Regions from separate parts of the Homo sapiens genome. Here region 2 is linked to region 1. The links are contacts of gene promoters, found by promoter capture Hi-C in human tissues and cell types (Jung and others, 2019). All regions are on one chromosome and are shown on one strand. Each heading gives the region's core, a stretch centred on a gene start or on the middle of the fragment in contact. The rest is flanking DNA. Distances are from core to core; before and after follow the strand shown. Region 1 holds the start of ADM5 (adrenomedullin 5 (putative)). Region 2 overlaps PRR12 (proline rich 12).

What was found. Contacts are between HindIII fragments. The study calls those that stand out against the background at their distance.
Region 2: a contact is called between a fragment that was not itself captured here and the fragment with the promoter of ADM5 in region 1, in 2 of the 25 tissues and cell types used here (spleen and stomach).

What each region holds. Positions count from the first base shown.
Region 1 is chr19:49,686,868-49,691,063 of GRCh38, reverse strand. ADM5 (adrenomedullin 5 (putative)) reads right to left here and starts at 1,470. Exons shown (of 2, transcript NM_001101340.2): 1 at 1,153-1,470; 2 at 489-958. The coding sequence starts at 1,226. The coding sequence ends at 571. PRMT1 (protein arginine methyltransferase 1) reads right to left here. Exons shown (of 11, transcript NM_001536.6): 11 at 2,617-2,902. The coding sequence ends at 2,819. It also overlaps a transcript of CPT1C not described here. RefSeq lists a silencer at 1,011-1,080 and enhancers at 2,389-3,129, 3,130-3,871. The HindIII fragment of the contact is 11,781 bases long and covers 1-2,780 here.
Region 2 is chr19:49,623,613-49,627,808 of GRCh38, reverse strand. It overlaps PRR12 (proline rich 12), which reads right to left. Exons shown (of 14, transcript NM_020719.3): 12 at 2,819-2,965; 13 at 2,609-2,704; 14 at 1,370-2,348. The coding sequence ends at 2,202. Among named protein-coding and RNA genes, the nearest start is that of RRAS, 14 kb to the left of the region's middle. The HindIII fragment of the contact is 9,568 bases long and covers 1-4,196 here.

The sequences.
Region 1 (4,196 bases), core at 221-2,720:
CCCCTTCGAGCCACGGCGTCCAATCCCCTACATCCGTTCGATCCCCAGTCCTCCGTCTCCTTTTACCCGGCCAGATTCTCCACCATTTGGCCGCTCGCATTCTACGCAGCTGTTCGGAACCCGGGTTCCTGGGCTCCTCACTCAGCTCATTGTCTCTTAGTCTCCTGTCTCTTCGAGGAACAAGGCTCAGCTGGGAGGTCGCAGCCCACCCCAGGTGCATTATAACGTCAGGCGCGTAGGGTGCCGGAGCAAATCTCAGCCCTTTCACGCCAGGGAGGGAGGAGGGATGTTTGGGGGTCAGGACGGCCCGCCAAAACCACCCACGGAAGGTGCATGGATTGAGTTGGCAAGAAAGGCGCCACAGCGGGTTGGATTCAAGGTAGACAGTGGGACTTCCGTGAGGGAGAAGCAGCATGGCTAATAGAGAAAGGTATATTAGAGACCCAGCCTCGACTGAGAGGTCGAAATAGGTACAGAGAAGCAGAGACTGAAACACGGAACTCTTGTTTATTCGGCTCTGGGCGTCAGTGTTCTTCGCCCAGCCTGGTCCCGTGTGCTTCTAGGTCCAACCTAGTCGCAGCCCGGGGAGGGACTGGGGAAGACGGTTTCAGGGGCTGGAGTTAGGGGAGAAGAAATGTGGAGTAGAAGCTCCAACATACAGATAGGCAAACTGAAGCCGAGGAGGGGACGAGCCGTGCCCGAGGTCACCCAGCGAGCTGGGCACTGCGCTAGCCCCCTCGCTGCAGGCCGGAATCCTGGGAACCGAGCCGGGCTTCCGCCTCGCGCCACCGGCGGCGCCCATAGCTGTAGGGGTCCTGGGGCTCGTGGCTGGCCTTCCCCGAGGGCTCCTTGGTGGAGACAGCGAATCCAGTATATGATCTCCGCCAGGCGGTGGGTCCGGCATACGCCCAGGTAGCAGACGTGCCCGCGGTGCTGGGGGACCTGGTGCTGGCCTCGCCTGGAGAGGGAGCGTGGGAGAAAACCGGGTTCAAACCGAATTGAGAGATGGAGCGTGATGGAGGTGGGCACCCAAGCACTCCAAGACCAGCGGGGAGGCTTACAGATCACCTGCCCGTTCCGCGGCCGGGAGAGGGCGCTCGCCCTTTACGGTCTCCCTCCCGCCCTGTCCCTGCTGCCACCCGGGTTTCTCACCTGGCTGCAGTGTCCAGGTCCCCTTGGGCGGAGAAGGCGAGGAGCAACAGCAGGATGAGGATGTGGATAGTCATCGTGGGCAGGGCGGGTCAGGATCCGTGGCCCGTAGTTGCGGCCACCCCGCCCCGTTCCCGCACCGGGCTGATCGCCTCTGGGTGCAGCTCTGGAGCCAGGTACCAGGGCCAGTCCCCACTTCCCAGGCGGGGAACACTGAGGCCAAAAGTCTGTGGGAAGAGGCCGCACCACACCAGAGGGGCAGGATTCAAACCCGGGTCCCCGCTTCCCGCACCGCGGCTCCAGAGACCTCACTGGGTGTGTGGGGTCACACCAGCTGCTGTCTATCCCCCTAGGAGGTCTGTGGAGACTCGCCCCCTTCAAAGCGTGGGGAAATGGGGCGGGGCCAATGACACCCGCAGGTAGCTAAGCAGCGGGATTCCAAGAAAAGGGGTGGCGGCGGGGAAGCGCTGGCTCTGGTTGTAGATGCGACCTCACCCTCACCCTGTCGGGAAGCCGGTTAGTAGACAGTTGGGACCCTGGAACCTCGGGGGCCAGGCAATGCAGGGCAAGTGCACATGCGGCCCCCTGGAGGGCGTGGAGCGAGGGAGACCCCAAACACACTGAGGAGCGCCCCTCCGGAAGAGAAAAGGCCGAGGTGTCAGGCACTCGCCGGTGAGGGCTCCAGTTGCACTGAAGCAGGTGTAGCCAGGGCTGTTCAACGAGGAGGGTGTCCTGGGTCAACCAGGTCGAGTGCACAGTATTGTGGGGGACCCAGGACCCCGTGGCCAGGCCCTGAGGGTGGAAGGGTGGGTGCAGACGCCATGTCTGCAGCAGAGGCAGAGGGACCTCGTCTTCACCTCTGTAAGATGGGTAGGCCCTGCCACCTTACAGCTGCAACTCCCACTGACCTCCATGGAGGGCAAGTCCCCAGCCCTAAGCCCCAAGCCATTCTAGGGGAGGAAGCAGGGCCACTCCCCCATGAGAAATTCTATCCTTGCAAACATACACCCCCAACCCACTCAGTGTCCCCAGCTGCAGAGGGCTGGGCACAGTTGGGCCTTGAAGGGACCCGAACAGGAAAAAACAGCCAGAGAGGAACAATGTCGAGTGTTGGGGGGAGGTGGGGAGACTGTTCTGGGAAACTTGAGGGCTGGCTGTGCTGGAAAGCCACCCCCATCCCCTACTAGGCAGGACACGGGTACCGCAGAGGGGAGGGGCGCAGACCCAGGAGAGGGATGAAAAGAGTTGGACAAAGACCCTGAGAGACAGCTGTGGAGGACAGGGACCCCGAGAAGGAACCAAGGAAGGGGAGCAAGAGGCCTAGAGACGGGGGACGGGAGACGCAGATCCACAGAATGGCAGCCACCAGCAGGTGCCAAGGCCGGTCCCCCCACTGCTGAGGCTGGCACTGCAGTACCTGCGAAAGGAACCCCAAACCTCCTTTGCCCCCAGGAAACAAAGCCAGACCCCAGCTGAGGATTTATTGGCGTAAATGCAACCATATAAAAACATAAGTTATGAAAAACACAGTCACGATGTGCCCTCCCCATCCCCCCAGCCCAGGCCCCTAAAACCCCCTTCTGCGGGAGGGAGGGAGAGGAAGGGGGAGCCCCGAAACCGCCTAGGAACGCTCAGCCCCTGGGCTCGTGCAGGGCGGGAGAGCCGGGCCTCAGCGCATCCGGTAGTCGGTGGAGCAGGACAGCTCGCACAGCTGGCCCTTGAAGTCCAGGTCGATGGTGAAGTCCAGGTCCCGCTGCAGGGAGAGGTGGGGCATGAGGGCGGAACCCACCAGGAGGTGGTGGCGGGGGGCGGGTGCAGGCAGGCTATGCGACGATGAGCCGGGCTCCAGCTTCCTGCCCATCTCCACGCTGCAGACCCCAACTGCTGGTCCCACCCTAGCAGCTGCCCTGACCCTGCCAAGGGACAGCACCACATGGACACCCCCAAGCCCACTAGACTCACTCAGGAGTAGAGCCCAGCTGCTGTCCCTTGCCCTTGGATTTCTCCATCAGGATGATTCCCATCAGCAATGCAGTGATTGCTTCTTTCATAAAAAAGAAAACCTCTCCCAAGCCCACTTCCTCCTCAGGCAAACGTTCCAGTGAAACACAATGGTCCAGCCTGCTGTCTCCACTTCCTCTCCTCCCCCCATACCCTCCAGCACATGAAGATGAGACAAAGTCACCAACGCCCGAGGACTCCTCCTCCCTCTCCAGTATCCGTTTCCCAGCTAGTGCCGTGGTCCCGGGGGCTGCATGAGTCTTTGTAGGGGGTGGTCCTGTGGCTGCAGGACATTTACCAGCCCCCTGGCCCCTACCTACCAGATGCCAGGACCACCCCTTCTCCGGAGTGACAACCACAAATGTTTCCACAGACGGTGGCAAACGTCCTGGGGGGGGGCGGGGAGCGGAGGGGGCAGTAAAACTGCCCAGTTGACAACTGCTGCTGTCACAGGCTCGTGGGTGTCCCAGGGTCCACATTCCATGACTACCCTGAGTGCCACCCACCCTCGCACCCATCGGCCGGGACCCACTTTTCCAACCCAGACCACTCCCGGCGACTCCAGGCTCCAAGCCTTCCATCCTCCTGCCTGCTCAGACCCACCACACTGGATCTCTGCCCAGACCCTGTCTCCGAGAAGCCCCCCCAGCTCCCCCGGAAGCCCCCTGATCTCAGGTGATGGCAGCTCCTGCCAAGTGCTCAGGAGGAAAAAGAAAGGGGAGCAGAAAACAAAAAGCTGCCTTTCTCCTCTCATGCCTCCCAGCTGGGCTAGAAAACCCCGTGCACTCTACTGGGGGCTGCCTCTTGCCCTGGAGCCCACCTACACCAACACCTGTCTGCCCTGCTCCCAGCCTGACAGAGGTCACCTCCAACTGGCATCACCATGTCACTGACCCCCTTGTCTAGAGTGGAAGCACCAGGAGGGCAGGGTTTCAGCCTGGGTCCCCAGGCCCATAACTTCCGGTGAATGCTCAAGCAATCCTGCTGTGTAGACAGGCATGGGGCTGAGGGGCTTGGGGACCCGGGAATAGGCAGAGGTGCTCGCC
Region 2 (4,196 bases), core at 828-3,327, 64 kb after region 1:
GGAGTCTCGCTCTGTCAGCCAGGCTGGAGTGGTGCAATGGCACGATCTCAACTCACTGCAACCTCCGCCCCCTGGATTCAAGCGATTCTCCTGCCTCAGCCTCAGCCTCCCATGTAGCTGGGATTATAGACGCACGCCACCACGCCTGGCTGATTTTTGTATTTTTAGTAGAGACGGGGTTTCACCATGTTGGTCAGGCCGGTCTCGAACTCCTGACCTCAAGTGATCCCCCCGCCCCGGCCTCCCACAGTGCTGGGATTATAGCCGTGAGCCACCGTGCCCAGCCAACCTGCACATTTTTAACATTCTTGTTCTAGAACACGGTTCTTCAAACTTGAATGTGCTTGAGAATCCTCTCGGCATTTTACTAAAAAGTGGGTTCTGATCAAGTAGACCAGAGCAACAGCCTGAGATTCTACATCTTTTCCTTTAAGGGTGGGAGGAGGAGAAACAGCCCTATTCAACCTGCCCTCTCCTCGTCTGCTGCCTGTGCCGATTCTACATTTATACAAGTGCTTGGGGAACTCCAAGAGTGCTGTACCATGGACCACTCACTTGGATTCAAGAATACAGGACTTGAGGCCGGGCGCAGTGGCTCACACCTGTAATCTCTTTGGAAGGCTGAGGCTGGCGGATCACTTGAGGTCAGGAGTTCGAGACCAGCCTGGCCGACATGGTGAAACCTGGTTTCTACTAAAAATACAAAAATTTGCTGGATGTAGTGGTAGGCCCCTGTAATCCCAGCTACTTGGGAGGCTGAGGCAGGAGAATCGCTTGAACCGGGGAGGCTGAGGTTGCATGAGCCAAGATCGAACCACTGCACTCCAGGCTGGGTGACAGAGCGAGACTCTGTCTCAAAAAAAAAAACCAAAACAAAACACTACAGGATTTGAACTGGGTGTAGTGGCATGCACCCGTAATGCCAACTACTTGAGACTGGGGCAGGAGGATCTTTTAAGCCCAGAAGTTCAAGGCCAGCCTGGGTAACATAAAGAACACAGGGCCAGGCACAGTGGCACTTGCCTGTAATCCCGTCACTTTGGGAGGCTGAGGCAGGAGGATCGCTTGAGCCAGGGAGTTGGAGGCTGCAGTGAGCTATGATCATGCCACTGCACTCCAGCCTAGGTGACAGAGCGAGACCCTGTCTTTAGCTAAAAAACAAAAGAAACCCCCCAGTGATAAATATTTGTTGTCTGAAGTCATTAAATTTCAGGGTGGGATACTCTGCTGTGCGGGGACACAGAACATATGCCAGCCTCAGGCCCCCCACTGCCCAGGGCTCTGGGAAAGTCCCGTTCCAGAACCTCTGCCCCTGCTACCACTGCCACCCACTCCAGCGCCGCAGGACAGAGGCACTCCAGCCTGCCGGTAAAGTGTTTGCCGTTGGGTTTTCGTTTGGCTGGTTGTGTGTACACAGTGTATACAAGTTGAGTTGTACAGAAGCCCAAGAAAGAGCAAGAGACAAAGGGTAGTGGGAGCAGGGGGTGGGGCGGGGGCGAGAACGGGGAGGAGGGGAAAGGAGACCGATAAAAAATAGAACCACATCCAGACAACAATGGGGGATGGGCAGTGGGTGGGGGCCAGACACAGACAAATCGCCGTAGAAAAGGAGTGGGAGGGGCAGAGAGAGGGGACCCTTCTCCCCCCTCCACCTCCCCAAGCCCCTGCCCCAGGTATGTACAATAAATAAGATTAAAAATAATTAACAAGATGCGTTTTCCCCTCCCACCCGACGCCAAATGCCCTGCGGAGGGAATGGCCTTTAGCAAAGATCTTGGCCTGCAGGGGGGACTTGGGGGGAAGGGGTCCCCCAGCTCTCTGAAGCCACCCCACCCCCCCCAGCCATACATAGACTTTTCCTATACATTATGTACAAGGTGGAGGGGGCGGGGGCTGTGGCTGTGGAGGGGGGGTCGGGGCAAGGGGAGAGGGAAACCGTTACTAAATAGACATTTATACATATATATAAATAATTTCTCTGTACACCGAACAGTGGGAGGAATGGGGAGGGAGTGGAGGGGGCTTGGGAGAGGGGGGGAGTCGGACTTTGAACCCTGCCCTGGAGGGGGCAGCACAGACACACCCTGACCCATGACCCCCTTTCCCCGGCGATGGAGCCCAGGTGTTAGCTCCTGAGGACACGGTTCTGTCCCAATTCTCGGTTCATGGAGGAGGCGCCCCCCTCACAAGCTGGGGCGGGGTCACCCGCAGCGGCTGTGGGCCTGTGCTTGGGCCAGCAGGTCACTGAAGGAGTCAAAGAGCTGTTCCAGCCACGGCTGGTTCCGCATGCACTGCTGGACCACCTCCTCCTGGCCCAGGTCCTCGGCGCCGCCCTCGATGGCCAGGGTCTGCAGGGGTCAAACATGGCACTGGGGAGGGTGGCACACCGGCCTCTGGGGAGGGAAGGGGCTGGGGCATGGGGCCTGGGGTGTCAGATGTCAGTGTCCCAGGGAGACCAGGGCTGGGGGCTGCATTCTTAAGTCCAAGACAGAAGGACCTGAACTCTTGGGTCTGAGGCAGGATGGGGCTGGGCTTGGACCCTCAGATCCCAAGAGGAAGTCAGAAAGGTTGGAATCCCAGGGCGATGGGTGCTGTGGGTGGGGCTCACCTGGTCCCGGCAGCGCAGGAAGGTGTGGTATTTATAGTGGTGGAGCGAATGGTAGAGTGTATAGTATCCCGACTTTTCCAGCTCAACCTTGAACTCCTGGGTAGGAGTGGAGATGCCTCAGCCCCTCCAGCCCGGCACTTGGCAGCCCCTCTCCTCCCTTCCCACATACCGCCAGCACTCCCCACTCCCAGCCCCAGCCCCAGTGCCCACCTGGGCTCTGACCACGCTCCTCTTGAGCTTGCTGAGCGTCTTGCGGTTGTAGGGTTCCCCAGCAGGCCGCAGCCGCACAGCCCCCTCTTCCGGAGAGCCCTCCCCACTCTGCTCCACTTGCAGCTGTGGGAACGTGTGCAGAGCATCCTGCGGGAAGCCAATGGGTCAGCTGGATGCTGCCCTGGATCCATAAACCCCAAACCCAACAGCCAGGTCTCAGATCTGTGCCTCAGTTTCCCCCAGGCTGCAGATCAGGAGAGACAACTAGAGTCTCCTCAAAGGACAGAGGAGGCTGGGCCTGACCAGTGATGCTTCCACTGTGCCTTCTGGCCTGGCTCAGATTCTCAATGTCACCCAAAATTCTACCCCAGAATTCCCAGCCCCATCCTAACCATCTACCCCAGAATTCCCAGCCCCATCCTAACCATCTATCCCAGAATTCCCAGCCCCATCCTAACCATCTATCCCAGAATTCTCAGCCCCATCCTAACCACCTACCCCAGAATTCCCAGCCCCATCCTAACCACCTACCCCAAAATTTTCAGCACCATCCTAACCACCTACCCCAGAATTCTCAGCCCCATCCTAACTATCTATCCCAGAATTCTCAGCCCCATCCTAACCACCTATCCCAGAATTCTCAGCACCATCCTAACCACCTACCCCAGAATTCTCAGCACCATCCTAACCACCTACCCCAGAATTCTCAGCCCCATCCTAACCACCTATCCCTGAATGCTCGGCCCCATCCTAACCACCTACCCCAGAATTCTCAGTCTCATCCTAACCACCTATCCTATCCCAGAATTCTCAGCCCCATCGTAACCACCTACCCCAGAATTCTCGGTCCCATCCTAACCACCTACCCCAGAATTCTCGGTCCCATCCTAACCACCTACCCCAGAATTCTTGGCCCCATCCTAACCACCTACCTCAGAATTCTCAGTCCCATCCTAACCACCTACCCCAGAATTCTCGGTCTCATCCTAACCACCCACCCCAGAATTCCTGGCCCCATCCTAACCACCCACCCCAGAATTCCCAGCCCCATCCTAACCACCTACCCCAGAATTCCCAGCCCCATCCTAACCAGCTATCCCAGAATTCCCAGCCCCATCCTAACCACCTACCCCAGAATTCCCAGCCCCATCCTAACCAGCTATCCCAGAATTCCCAGCCCCATCCTAACCATCTACCCCAGAATTCTCGGCCCCATCCTAACCACCTACCCCAGAATTCTCGGCCCCATCCTAACCATCTATCCCAGAATTATTGGCCCCATCCTAACCATCTATCCCAGAATTCTCAGCCCTATCCTAACCATCCCATCTACCCCAGAATTCTTTTTTTTTTTTTTTTAAGACAAAGTCTCGCTCTG